Linked DNA regions of Homo sapiens: all the other regions are linked to region 2. Evidence: promoter capture Hi-C in human tissues and cell types (Jung and others, 2019). All regions are on one chromosome and are shown on one strand. The core of a region is centred on a gene start or on the middle of the fragment in contact, and the rest is flanking DNA. Distances in the headings are between cores, read along the strand shown. Region 1 has its middle 6.6 kb from the start of NPY4R. Region 2 holds the start of GPRIN2 (G protein regulated inducer of neurite outgrowth 2). Region 3 overlaps LINC00842 (long intergenic non-protein coding RNA 842). Region 4 overlaps LINC00842 (long intergenic non-protein coding RNA 842).

Region 1 (2,700 bases), core at 104-2,603, 84 kb after region 2:
CCTGCTGGCCAGAATCTCTACTTAGAAGGCTTCTGGGAAGGCCAGGCCCTTATCGGCTTCCGACTTTGAAGTCCTAGGAACCCTCCCTCACACCTCCCTTCTATGTGGCTTTGAAAATACTTTGATATTCTATCCCTATCCCTTAATTATTTGAACCCTCACCAGTTTGTAATGAGCCTGAACCCATCTTTGCTCCATTTTACATATGACAAAACTGAGGCTGGAAGCGTTGTTGCCAAGCTTCTTTGCCCTTTGTACCATGGGATTTAATTACATATATTTTATGGATTCTTTCCTTTATAAAGTTGTAATCATTCATTCTTTTTTAATAGAGAGAAATTTAGAAAAGGAAACAAAGCAAAAAATGACCTAAAATCCTATGGGTCAGATAACTCCCGTTGATATTCTTTCCTTCTTTCCCCCAGTTCTATTTCCAGAGGTTACCACTTTCAATTTTTATTTCTGTTTCATTCTATAAAGATGAAGAAAATTTTTGACACCTTTAAAAATATAATTTAAATCATCTTAAACTTATAGAAAAGTTGAAAGTGAGGATAAAGAACATTAATTTTTCTATGCCATTTGAAAGCATGATCCCGGCAATTTGCATGAACACCTTGCTACCGCCTCATCTGCAGGCTCCACTAAAGTTTCATCAGCTGTCCCAAGATACACAGGTTTCATTCTCCTGTCTCTGGTCTCCTTCAATCTGGAATGGTTCTCCCTTCTTTCCTTGACTTCCATGGCCTTATGTTTCCAGATGACAGGCCAGTTATTCTGTAGTATGTCCCTCACCTGGGTTGAGGCTGATGCTTCTTCAGGGTTGGATTCACTTGCATGCACCTTCAGCAGGAAGATCACAGAAGCTGTGCTGCGTTTTCCTTGCATCCTGTCATGCGGTGAGTAATTTCACTCTAGGATTAGAGATGGTGTTCGCTATGATCATTTGATTACAGAGGTGACTGCCAGCCTTCTCCACTGTAAGGTGACTCTTCTCTTTGTAATAAACAAATATTTTGTGATGAGGCACACTGAAACCATGAATATATTCCATTCCTCATCAAACTGTCACTTTACTCCATCATTTAGTTATATTGAAATGGACTCAGATTTTTATTTTATTCAGTAGGTTATTATCCATCATCATTATTATTTACTTTGATGCTCACATGGTCGAAGATTTGGCCATCAAGGGCCCCTTCAAGCCAGGTTCTGGGCTTTTCTGGCCTGCACCCTTCATTCTTAGAGTACTTCATTACTTTCTAGCTCCCAAGATCTTTCAGGTTTATCTTGGGCTTTCCCAGCCCTTGCCCTGGAATCAGCCATTTTCCGAAGGAGACTTGGATTCTTTTAATGGAGAATGGCATTTAGAAGTCAATATATGGGTGCTAGGAGTGTTCATTGCTATTGGGGTATCACTGCTCCTAGACTCTCTCAGTGGACAGAGCAAGGATATATATGCACACACACTATTAGATCAATATTTATCTCTCTATATAGAAAACCATGAGCTCACTTCAATACTTTCAATTCTAATCAAAACCACAGGGCTTATTCTGGGTTTCCCTCCTTCCATATTCATGACTGCCTTCTCCATGAGTGAGAAAACTGGCTCCCAACTTTGCTCAGTTGGTCCCCCTGCATATACCCAATCTTCCATAGCAGAACTCTGCCCCTCCACTCATTCTGTGTGGCTCTGACATCCACACTTGGTTGTCCCCTTCTGCCATGTGGACTTTCATTTGACAGTACTTGGACTCTAACACCCTGTGCTAGGCCACCGTGCCCCTGCCTCCCTGCATGGCCACTCTTTGTCCTATTCTGGCTCTGACATGCCATGCCAGGCTCCCCCACGCCAGATGGGTGCCATCTGGTACATATCCCGTGTGCTTAGCTTAGACTACCCGGGCTATGATGGCTACTGTCCCACCCATGCCCATGTGCTGCATGCATCTTATGAAGGCATCTGGTTTATTCTCCCTGCTCATCAGTTCAATCAGCATGTGCTACCAGTGTAGTGCACCAGCATACCATCTGTGGATCTGTGGGATGTTCAGAAGATCAAGGTCTCTGTAGACCACACTATAACAGAAAGCTGGAAAACGAACATGATCTGGGAGAAGACACTGACTTTGTACTTCTATCCTTGCCAGGTGAAAGCAAACTTCTGCTGGTTCTTACCGATACAGATGGGGAGAAAACACAAGCTGAGTCAATAGCTACATACTAAGTGCTGAGAGTGGTTAAGTTGTTCTATGTTGCATTTAGAAAAGCAGCTAAAATTGGAGTTACTGCCTGATTAAATTTACGACGACATACAGTCATTCTCCAAGATTCAGCAACTTCCTGCACAGGCTAAAGAGCTAAAGAGGTGAGCCAAGTGGGCAGAAATGTGACAGGCCTCCCTGTCCCTGCATCTTTCATGTCTTTAATCATGGCATCGATCCCTGTAATTCCCCTAGAAATACAGTAATGCAGGTTTACTATTTGCGTAGGGAAAGAAAATCCCAGGCTCCTGGGCCTGTTCAACCATTTCTTTGACCTCATCTCTCCTTGCTTGATTTTATACCAGTTGTGCTGGAGTACCTTCTAATATGGTTTGGCTCTGTGTCCCCACCCAAATCTCATCTCTAATTGTCATCTCCACATGCCGAGGGAGGTACCTGGTGGGAGGTAATCGGATTATGGGGGCAGTTTACC
Region 2 (2,729 bases), core at 230-2,729:
GGCCCAAGCCTGGGGTCTGACGTCGACACCCCTGTGGGCATTTGGCCAAAGGCAGCCATCTGCCAGAATCTGAGAGCTGCTCTCAGACCTCGCTGGAGAGGGCTACCTGGGGCAGTCTGAGTCTCTCTGGGCAGACTGAGGTCCTTTGCTACCCAAACGGGGAGAATTAGAGATACTGTTGGCTCCTGGGCACTGGAAGGGAGGAACGCAGGCCTCTCAGCACAGGGCTGGGCCAACAAGTTGGGGGTCCCGGCACAGGGGACAACGGAGAAGTGCCAACATTGGGACCCAATTATGTGATACTGGGGCCCAGAGATAGTACAGGTGCCTCATACCACGTGGCCCTGGGTGGACAGCAGGAATCTATTGCGAGTGGCGGGAGGCCGGGGCTGCCTGTCCTGCGCCCTGAAGCTGGCCAGCGGTTGTGGAAACTGGGGGATATTGAGGGAACCGTAGGCCCAGGTCCTCAGCCTCATAGTGTGGAACCTGGCGATCCCAGGGCCTGGGCTGGCCCCCGGCGTCACGGGACCGGGAAGGCGCTGTGGTGCTGCGGGGAATTGCGGAGAAGAAGGCGGGCTCCAGTGGAGGTGGCTCATCCCCGCACGGTCACTGCCCTCGCCCGCTGTTGGGGTCCGCGGCTGGGAGACTGAAGGCCTCAAGTCGGGCTGGGTAGGGGCACGTGGGCAGGGAAAGGGGTGGTAGATTACCAGTCTTCAGGGGCGGGGCTGGAGATGCAACCCTAGGGAAGGAGTCTACCAGGCTGGGCTCTTGAGGGGCAATGGAGGGCTCCGGGGGCCAGGCCAGGCCAGGATCATGGAGTTCAAAGGACTGGAGTGAGGTTTGGGGTCCATGAGAGTGGAGCTCAGAGGATGGGACGGTGGGTCCAGGATTTGGGACCTGGGGCTGGAAAGTCCGAGGCTAGTGGAGACCAGGCCTGGTATCCCAGACGAAAGGGCCCTATAGGAAACGGGGTCTCGTGGGCGGGATCTGGAGCCAGAGAATTGTGAGAGGCGGAGCTAGGATGGAGAAGGCGAGAGGAAAGGGGTAGCCGCCGGCGCGGAGACCTCAATGCGGGGCGTGGTGCGGAGGGGGAACTGGAGCGAGGGGCACTGGAGCGAGGGGGTGGGGCTACGAGGAGGTGGACTTGAGGGGCTGGGTCTGGGGCCGGAGAATCGTGGGGAGCTGCGCCTATACACCCGGGACGGTGGGGTTGCGTCGGGGAAGTGGGAGTCTTGGGGGTTCGCTGGGCAGCCTGGAGAACAGGCGGTCGTGGTGCGGGCGGGGCCGAAAAGACCGAGGACAGTGGGGACCCGGCCTGAGGAGGGGTCGGGAAGGAGGGGTGGGGGCGCGCGGACGCAGATCCCGGGCCGCGGCGGGGCGGTGGCAGGCTCCAGAGTGGCACGGGCCCAGGTGAGCGAGGTCTCCGCCCGCCGCCCCTCCCGCCGCCCCGGTGCCAGCTGCCCCGCTGGCCCCTCCCTGTACCCGGCGCTTGCTCCGCGGGCCGGGCCGACGGCGGCGGGCGGCGTCTCGCGCCCAGGCCAGGTCGGCTCTGGCTCCATCTTGGGCCGCGGCACCTGGCACCTGTGGCGGCCGCAGGAGCAGCGCTTCCCCCGCCTGCGCGGCCCCGGCGGGCGAGAGGGTGAGAGGCTGGCTCCGCGCGCTCCCGTTGGGGCGGGGGGCGTGGTGGGCGGCACCTCCCCCTTGCTGAGCCTCAGAACCCACTCCTTCCCGCTGCCTGCGCTCAGACCCCCGGCATCCTGGCCCCTGCCCAGCGCCCAGAGCCCCCGGTGGCCGCATCGCACTCCCCGCGCTCCGCCTCTCATTGTCCTGTCCTGTCCCCTCTTCTACGTCTCCTCTGCCCATCCTCCCATTTTCACAAGTCTGTCCGGGACCCTGTCTCCTTCGGCCTCCACCCCTGCTGCCATCGCTCCTCCCTCTCCCCTTCTTCCTTTTCCCCTCCCTCAGCCTACTGCGCCGCCTACCCCGCCCCCAGCCTTGCTGCCCTTTGGCTTCTCCTGTCCCGCATCATTACCCCGGCCCACAGCCCCATTTGCCTGCAGTCGCTGCCTTTGCTCCTGAGAAGGTCTGTAGCCTCGTTTCGGGCCCGTATTGAGCCCCCTTCTCCCTAAGTCCGGGTGGGCTTTGTGCAGGAGGGGCGGGAGGGGAGCTATTCTGGGCGAGGCTGCGTGGTGCGGTGCTTTCAGGCCTTTGGCCCCGCAGCAGGGGCGGCCTGTGCTTGGCGTGCAGAGTGCAGCTGGGTAGACGCTGTTACTGCATACGGGCCTGTGTGTCCCAGGCTGGGGCATGAGTGCTTGTGAGCGTGCAGATAGGGACACACCGGCCGCCTAGGCTGCTTCTAGGCCGGGGCACCCTCTCCACCTAGGTGCCCCCCAGGGATTGTGGGCAAATCCTCCCCAGGGGAGGAAGCTCAGGGGCTGTTGGGCGCCTAGGCCTCTTCCTGGTGAGCAGAGCCTCATCCATGGGGCCACTGACCCCACAGTTACCCCAGAACCCTTTCCTGGCACAGCTTGTGACCCGGGGCATGTAGCCCTTAAGGCACGTTCATTGTGAAGGGCAGGTTTTGTCTCCTCCAAACCCTCCCTTTAGGAATGCTGCCTGCTGCTTTGCCCAGAGTTGGCCCTGAGTGTTCCTATCAGGCCCCGTTCACTCTGGGGTGGATTAAACCACCTCCTGGAGGGTGCTGTATCCCCACTGTGCAATGGGGGTTT
Region 3 (2,700 bases), core at 6-2,505, 100 kb after region 2:
TTCTCAGTCTTGTCTGATATGGTCGTCAGCTGTATTGGGCAGTTGGTCACTCCCTTCTCCTTGAGACTCCTGCATGTGGCTTTTTCAGGGCATAATGGTCATGGTTCTCCCTGCCTCATTGGGCTCTTCTTCCCCATCTCTTTTCTTGGACTCTTGTTGCCCTGATTTTGGGACACTGGAGCATCCCCAAGGAGCCCTGGAGGTCCTCTCATTCCCCTGGTGAGCTCACCCAGTTTTCTGGTGCTAAATGCCACAAATACTCTAATGTTCCCCAGTGTATCTCCAGTCTGAACTTCTCCCTGACCTCCAGATTTGGGTGTCCAGGCATGCTTTGTGTTTCCTAGACACCAGTCAGCATCTCAAGCTTGGCACATTTAAAAGCAAACTCCAGATTTGTCCCTGCTACCTCCTTCCTCAGTGTCCTCCTTTTCAGAAAAGGGCAAGTCCTGCTTTTCATTTGCTTGGGCCACAGTCTTTGGGATCACCTCCTATTCACAACCCTCATCCAATCTATCGGTGAGTTCTGTAAGCTGTGCCTTCAAAATGTTCTCAGAATGACCACTTCTCACTGCCTCCAGGCTCTGCCTTCAGGTTCAAGCCACTGTCCTCCCTACTGAGATCATGGCAGAGGCCTCCTTTCTGGCCTCATTCAGCCAGAGTGATCCACTGAAACTAGTCAGGTGCCTCTACAACTTTGTTCAACCCTCCAGTGGCTTTCCATCATATTCAGGGCAAATTTCACAGTCACAGTCTCCACCTGTGTCTGCAGATCATCCACCCCTCTCTGGCCTCACTTCCCACTACCCTTCCCCTCACCCACTCCTCTTCAGCAGTGCTTGCTTCTCTGCTATCTTTTGAACAGGCTAAGACCTTTCCCGCCTCAGGCCTTTCTACTTCCTACTCTTGCTGCTTGGAATGCCACCCCTTGATATCAACTTTCTCCCTTGCTCCCTTCACCTTAAGTGAACCTTTATTAGAAGATTAATTTCCTGGCTGGGCATGGTGGTTTGTGCCTGTAATCCCAGCACTTCGGGAGGCCAAAGCAGGCAGATCACTTGAGCCCAGGAATTTGAGACCAGTCTAGACAACATAGTGAAACCCCATCTCTCTCTACAAAAATTACAAAAATCAGCTGGGCATGGTGGCACAAGCCTGTATTCTGAGCTACTTGGGAGGCTGAGGTGGGAGGATTGACTAAGCACAGAAGGTCAAGGCTGCAGTGAGCCATGATCACACCGTTGCACACCAGCCTGGGCAACAGAGTGAAAGCCTGTCTCAAAAAACAGAAGACTAATTTTTTAACCATCCTGTAAAAATATAACCATCCTCCCTCTCTCTTCCCTTTTCTGCCCAGTTTCTGCCACAGGACTTAGCACATTGGCTGGTTCTTTGTTGAGGGTCTCCACTCCCTCATTAGAACATGAACCCCATGGAAGTAGGCACTGTAGATGTTTTATTTACTGTCCAGCCCTCAGCAAGAACAGGCTGTTCACGAGAGGTGCAGAAGAAATATCCATAGTACAAGTGAATTTCCAACTGTTATAGTTCATCAGTGGAGAGCTGCACTTCAGCCTCTTATTTGTGGAGAGCGGGCATCTGGTTTTGTAGCTGTTTGGTCCCAAGTTTGACAGCCGTTGTCTGCTGACTGAAAGGGAGCTGAAGCAGCTCCCTTTGCATCCTGGTTTCCTGGTTTGTAATAATAAACACTGGCTGCCATGTATTTAGTGCCCCAACCACTGTGCCAGATGCTTTATATACATTGCCTTCCCTCAATCCTGAGATCAGATAGATGAAGAAACTGAAGCTTATAGAGGTGAAATAATTTTTTCCACATTTTCAATAAGAGCCAAAGATGAAACCCAATCAGTTATCTTCCAAAGCCTATGACTTAGACTGTTGTAGCAGGAAGGACAGTTGGCCAGATGACCTCCAAGTGGCCTTGAAGCTCATAGCTAGAAAGTATGAGCTTTATGGGCAATGGAGAAGCACTGAAAGCTTTTAAGCAGGGGGATGGCATGGTCAGGTTACATGGAGGGAGAGTAGTGTGGCTGGATTGGCCTGCATTCCCCAGAAAGCAGAAGCTGGGGCAGAGGTCTATGAGCTTTTCCTTTATTAGGGAGAAAGATCCCAGGGAACAAGATGAAGAATATGGGGAAGGAGACAGGGAAGGAGGGAGAGTCAATCTGAAGATGCGCTACTGAGCTGGCAGCTGATTACTCGGTATCTCTTAAAACCATCTTAGGACAGTTTGTCTGGACGAAAAAAGAGGTAAGAACTCATCCATCGGTTTCCATATTCCCTTGGCAAAGGTTCGTACATGGAGCATTACCTCCCCACACTCTGGGGACACACAGGAACACTGAACATACCTGGACATAAACAGAGCAGGTCCTGCAGAGATGAGAAGGATGTTTGGGGTATGAGGTGAGGCGCCATCAGGTCGCACCTGTGTGAAGCCAGTGAGCTCTCTCAGAGCTGGTGCCTCAGTGGGTGCTGGACCAAGAGGCCAGTGAGGACAAGAGGATCATAAGCAGAGCAGAAACAGCATCCAATTCAGGGTCAGAGGAGGTGGTGTGGGCTGAACTGTGTCCCCCCAAACTCATATATTGAATTCCTAACCAACGGTACCTCATCATGTGGCCTTCTTTGGAAGCAGTGTCATTGCAGGTATAATTAGTTAAGATGAGGTCATACTGGAAT
Region 4 (2,821 bases), core at 114-2,613, 120 kb after region 2:
TTCCTGTACAGCCTGTGGAACTGTGAGTCAACTAAACCTCTTTAACTCATAAATTACCCAGTCTCAGGTCATTCTTTATAGCAGTGTGAGAACAGATTAATACAACAGGGTTCCCCATGGATCTGTTATAAAAATTAGGTTGTGGATGTCTATCATAAAACTCCAGGAGGCTGGGCAAAGGGTGATTGGAAAGCAGTGAGCAGGCACTTTCAGAGCTCATGTGGGACATGGGGGGACTCCTGCATTCCTACCAGCCAGAGTGGAGCGTCCTTGTAGAAAATCTGGTGCGTTCAGTTGACATCCCAGAAAAGTCATGTCTTGGCAGGAGGAGTAAAGAAGCCCTAAATAAAGTCTAATCTAACCCCTTTCCTTCAGTCAAAGCTTCAAAACAAACCTCAAAAGGGTCAGGGTAATTTCTAAGTAACTCAGCTGGCTGCCAGAAAAATATCTACCAATCTTTAGAGGAGGACAACAAAATCTAGCATTAAGTAAGGTATAATTAACAATGTTTGGTGTCATATAAGAAATACAGACATGTAAAGATGCACAGAAGTGCAACTCCTACCAAGAGAAAAACCAGTCAATAGAAACACACTCAGGAATGATGGATGTTGGAAATAGCACACAAAGGATTGAAAACACCAATTACAGATATACACACGAATTTAAAGGAAACATGAAAGTAATCATCAAAGAAGGAGAAAAATTAAAAAGGAAATACAAGGGCCAAAAATAAAAATCTTAAATAAAAAAATTTCTTTATGAAATGAACAGATTAGACGTGAAGAAGAAAAGATCAGTGAACTTGAAAGTTGCAATAGAAACTTTCAAAACTAAAATTCAGTCAAAAGAGACTAAAAAGAAAATTTAAATGAATCTTTAGTAACCTGTGGGAAAATATTCATGCAAGTATATGGATCACATACTTGTAATTGGAAGCTGAGAAGGAAAGGAAAGAGGGAAGAGAAAAAATATTTGAATAATGGTAAAAAATGCTCCAAATTTGATGAAACATACAAAACCACCCATCCATGATGCTCAATAGATCAAAAGCAAGATAAGCACAAAGAAAACTATGCAAGGTAAAACATAATCCAATTGCTAAATGCCAGTGGCTAAGAAATGTGGGTGGGCTTCATCAAATCTATTGAAGATCGGAATAGAACAGACAGACTGACTCTCCTGCAAGTAAGAGAGAATTTCATCCTGCCTGACTGCTTTGAGCTGGGAGGTGGTTTTTTTTTTTTCCTGCCATTTTTGAACTGAAGTATCAGCTTTTTATGAGTCTTGAGCCTGCCAGCCTTTGAACTGGAAGTACACCATTGGCTCTGCTGTTTCCAGCTTACTAACTGCAGATTTTGGGACTTGTCAGCCTCAATAATCATAGGAGCCAATTCCTTACACACACACACACACACACACACACACACACACGTTATGCATATGTACAAAATTATATATAGTTATATATTATATTTAAGTATAATCATATCTATCTATTCCAAAATTGGGTCTCTAATCTGATTACATTTTAAGTTGCTAATAACTTTATTTCCAATTGTAAAGAGAGCACTAATAGTCCATGGCATGATCTAGCAATAAAGATATCACCACTGGATACTCCTAATCAACCCCTTATAAGAGACAAGGAGCTGGGTAACGGTGTATACTTTCAATTATTTTCCTCACACTAACAAATATAATAAGACTCACCAGGTGTTTCTAATGTGAAGTGATACTAAGTGGACAAAGGATGAAAAACACTTAATGGTAAGTATGTGGGTAAATACAAAGGCTTTTCTCATTTTTAAATTTCCTTAAAAGATAATTGATTGTTTAAACAAAAATAATAACAATGTACTGTGTGGCTTATAACCTATTAAAGCAAAATATGTAATGATAGCATGATGGACAGAATGGAGGAAACGGAAGTATATGGTTGTAAGGTCTTACATTGTACATAAAGTGTTATAATAGTATATTTGTAATGAGCTAATGATACATATTGTATACCCTCATGCAACCACTAAACATGAAGCCAGAGTTATAGCTAATGAACTCACAGTGGAGATAAAATAGAACCATAAACATTTTTAATTCCTCTAAAAGAAATCAAGAAAAGAGAAATAAAGGATGAAGAACAGATGAAATAAACAGAGAACAAATGACAAATGGTAGATTTATACCCAACTATACTGATAATTATATAAAATGAAACTGGTCTAAAAATTCCAATAAAAAGACAAATATTTTTAGACTGTATAATAAGGCAAGACTCAACTCTATGTTGTCTGAAGACCTCAATAATTTAAAGGCACAGGTAGGTCAAAAGTAAGAGGATGGAAAAAAATATACCATGTAGCACCAATTATAACAAAGTTGGAGGGGCTAGTTAAATATCAGAAAAAGTAAACTTCAGAACAAGAAATATGCAGAACAAGAAATAAACGAGAACATTTCATAATGATAAATTTATCAGAAAGAGAAAAATTGTAAACATATATTCACCTAATAATAGAACTTCAAAATATGACAAAGAAATGGACAGAAATGAAGGGGGAAGTAGAGAAATCTACACTTATATTTACAAATTGTCATACTTGTTTCTCAGTAACTTATAGAACAAGTAGAAAAAATGAATAAAGGGGAAGGACACTTGAACAATATTACTAACCAACTTGATTTAATTGATGCCTATAGAACCTTCTACCTAAATACAGATTTTTAGGTGTAGTGTTCTATATCCTAGGAATGCAAAGTCAGTTTAATCAACAGCGCAATAAATCAATCAATGCAATTCACCGTATTCGTAGAATCCACA

What was found. Contacts are between HindIII fragments. The study calls those that stand out against the background at their distance.
Region 1: a contact is called between a fragment that was not itself captured here and the fragment with the promoter of GPRIN2 in region 2, in 10 of the 25 tissues and cell types used here (adrenal gland, heart left ventricle, liver and 7 more).
Region 3: a contact is called between a fragment that was not itself captured here and the fragment with the promoter of GPRIN2 in region 2, in 9 of the 25 tissues and cell types used here (H1 embryonic stem cells, IMR-90 fibroblasts, aorta and 6 more).
Region 4: a fragment that was not itself captured here is called in contact with the fragment with the promoter of GPRIN2 in region 2 in 8 of the 25 tissues and cell types used here (H1 embryonic stem cells, hippocampus, liver and 5 more).

The regions. Positions count from the first base shown.
Region 1 is chr10:46,471,241-46,473,940 of GRCh38, reverse strand. No RefSeq gene overlaps it. Among named protein-coding and RNA genes, the nearest start is that of NPY4R, 6.6 kb to the right of the region's middle. The HindIII fragment of the contact is 6,341 bases long and covers 1-2,700 here.
Region 2 is chr10:46,555,408-46,558,136 of GRCh38, reverse strand. GPRIN2 (G protein regulated inducer of neurite outgrowth 2) reads left to right here and starts at 1,479. Exons shown (of 3, transcript NM_001385282.1): 1 at 1,479-1,639. RefSeq lists enhancers at 32-737, 1,443-2,148. The HindIII fragment of the contact is 19,539 bases long and covers 1-2,729 here.
Region 3 is chr10:46,452,700-46,455,399 of GRCh38, reverse strand. LINC00842 (long intergenic non-protein coding RNA 842) reads right to left here. Exons shown (of 4, transcript NR_033957.2): 4 at 2,094-2,700. Among named protein-coding and RNA genes, the nearest start is that of NPY4R, 12 kb to the left of the region's middle. The HindIII fragment of the contact is 3,578 bases long and covers 1-2,700 here.
Region 4 is chr10:46,434,117-46,436,937 of GRCh38, reverse strand. The region is part of intron 1 of LINC00842 (long intergenic non-protein coding RNA 842); the gene reads right to left. Among named protein-coding and RNA genes, the nearest start is that of NPY4R, 30 kb to the left of the region's middle. The HindIII fragment of the contact is 3,908 bases long and covers 1-2,821 here.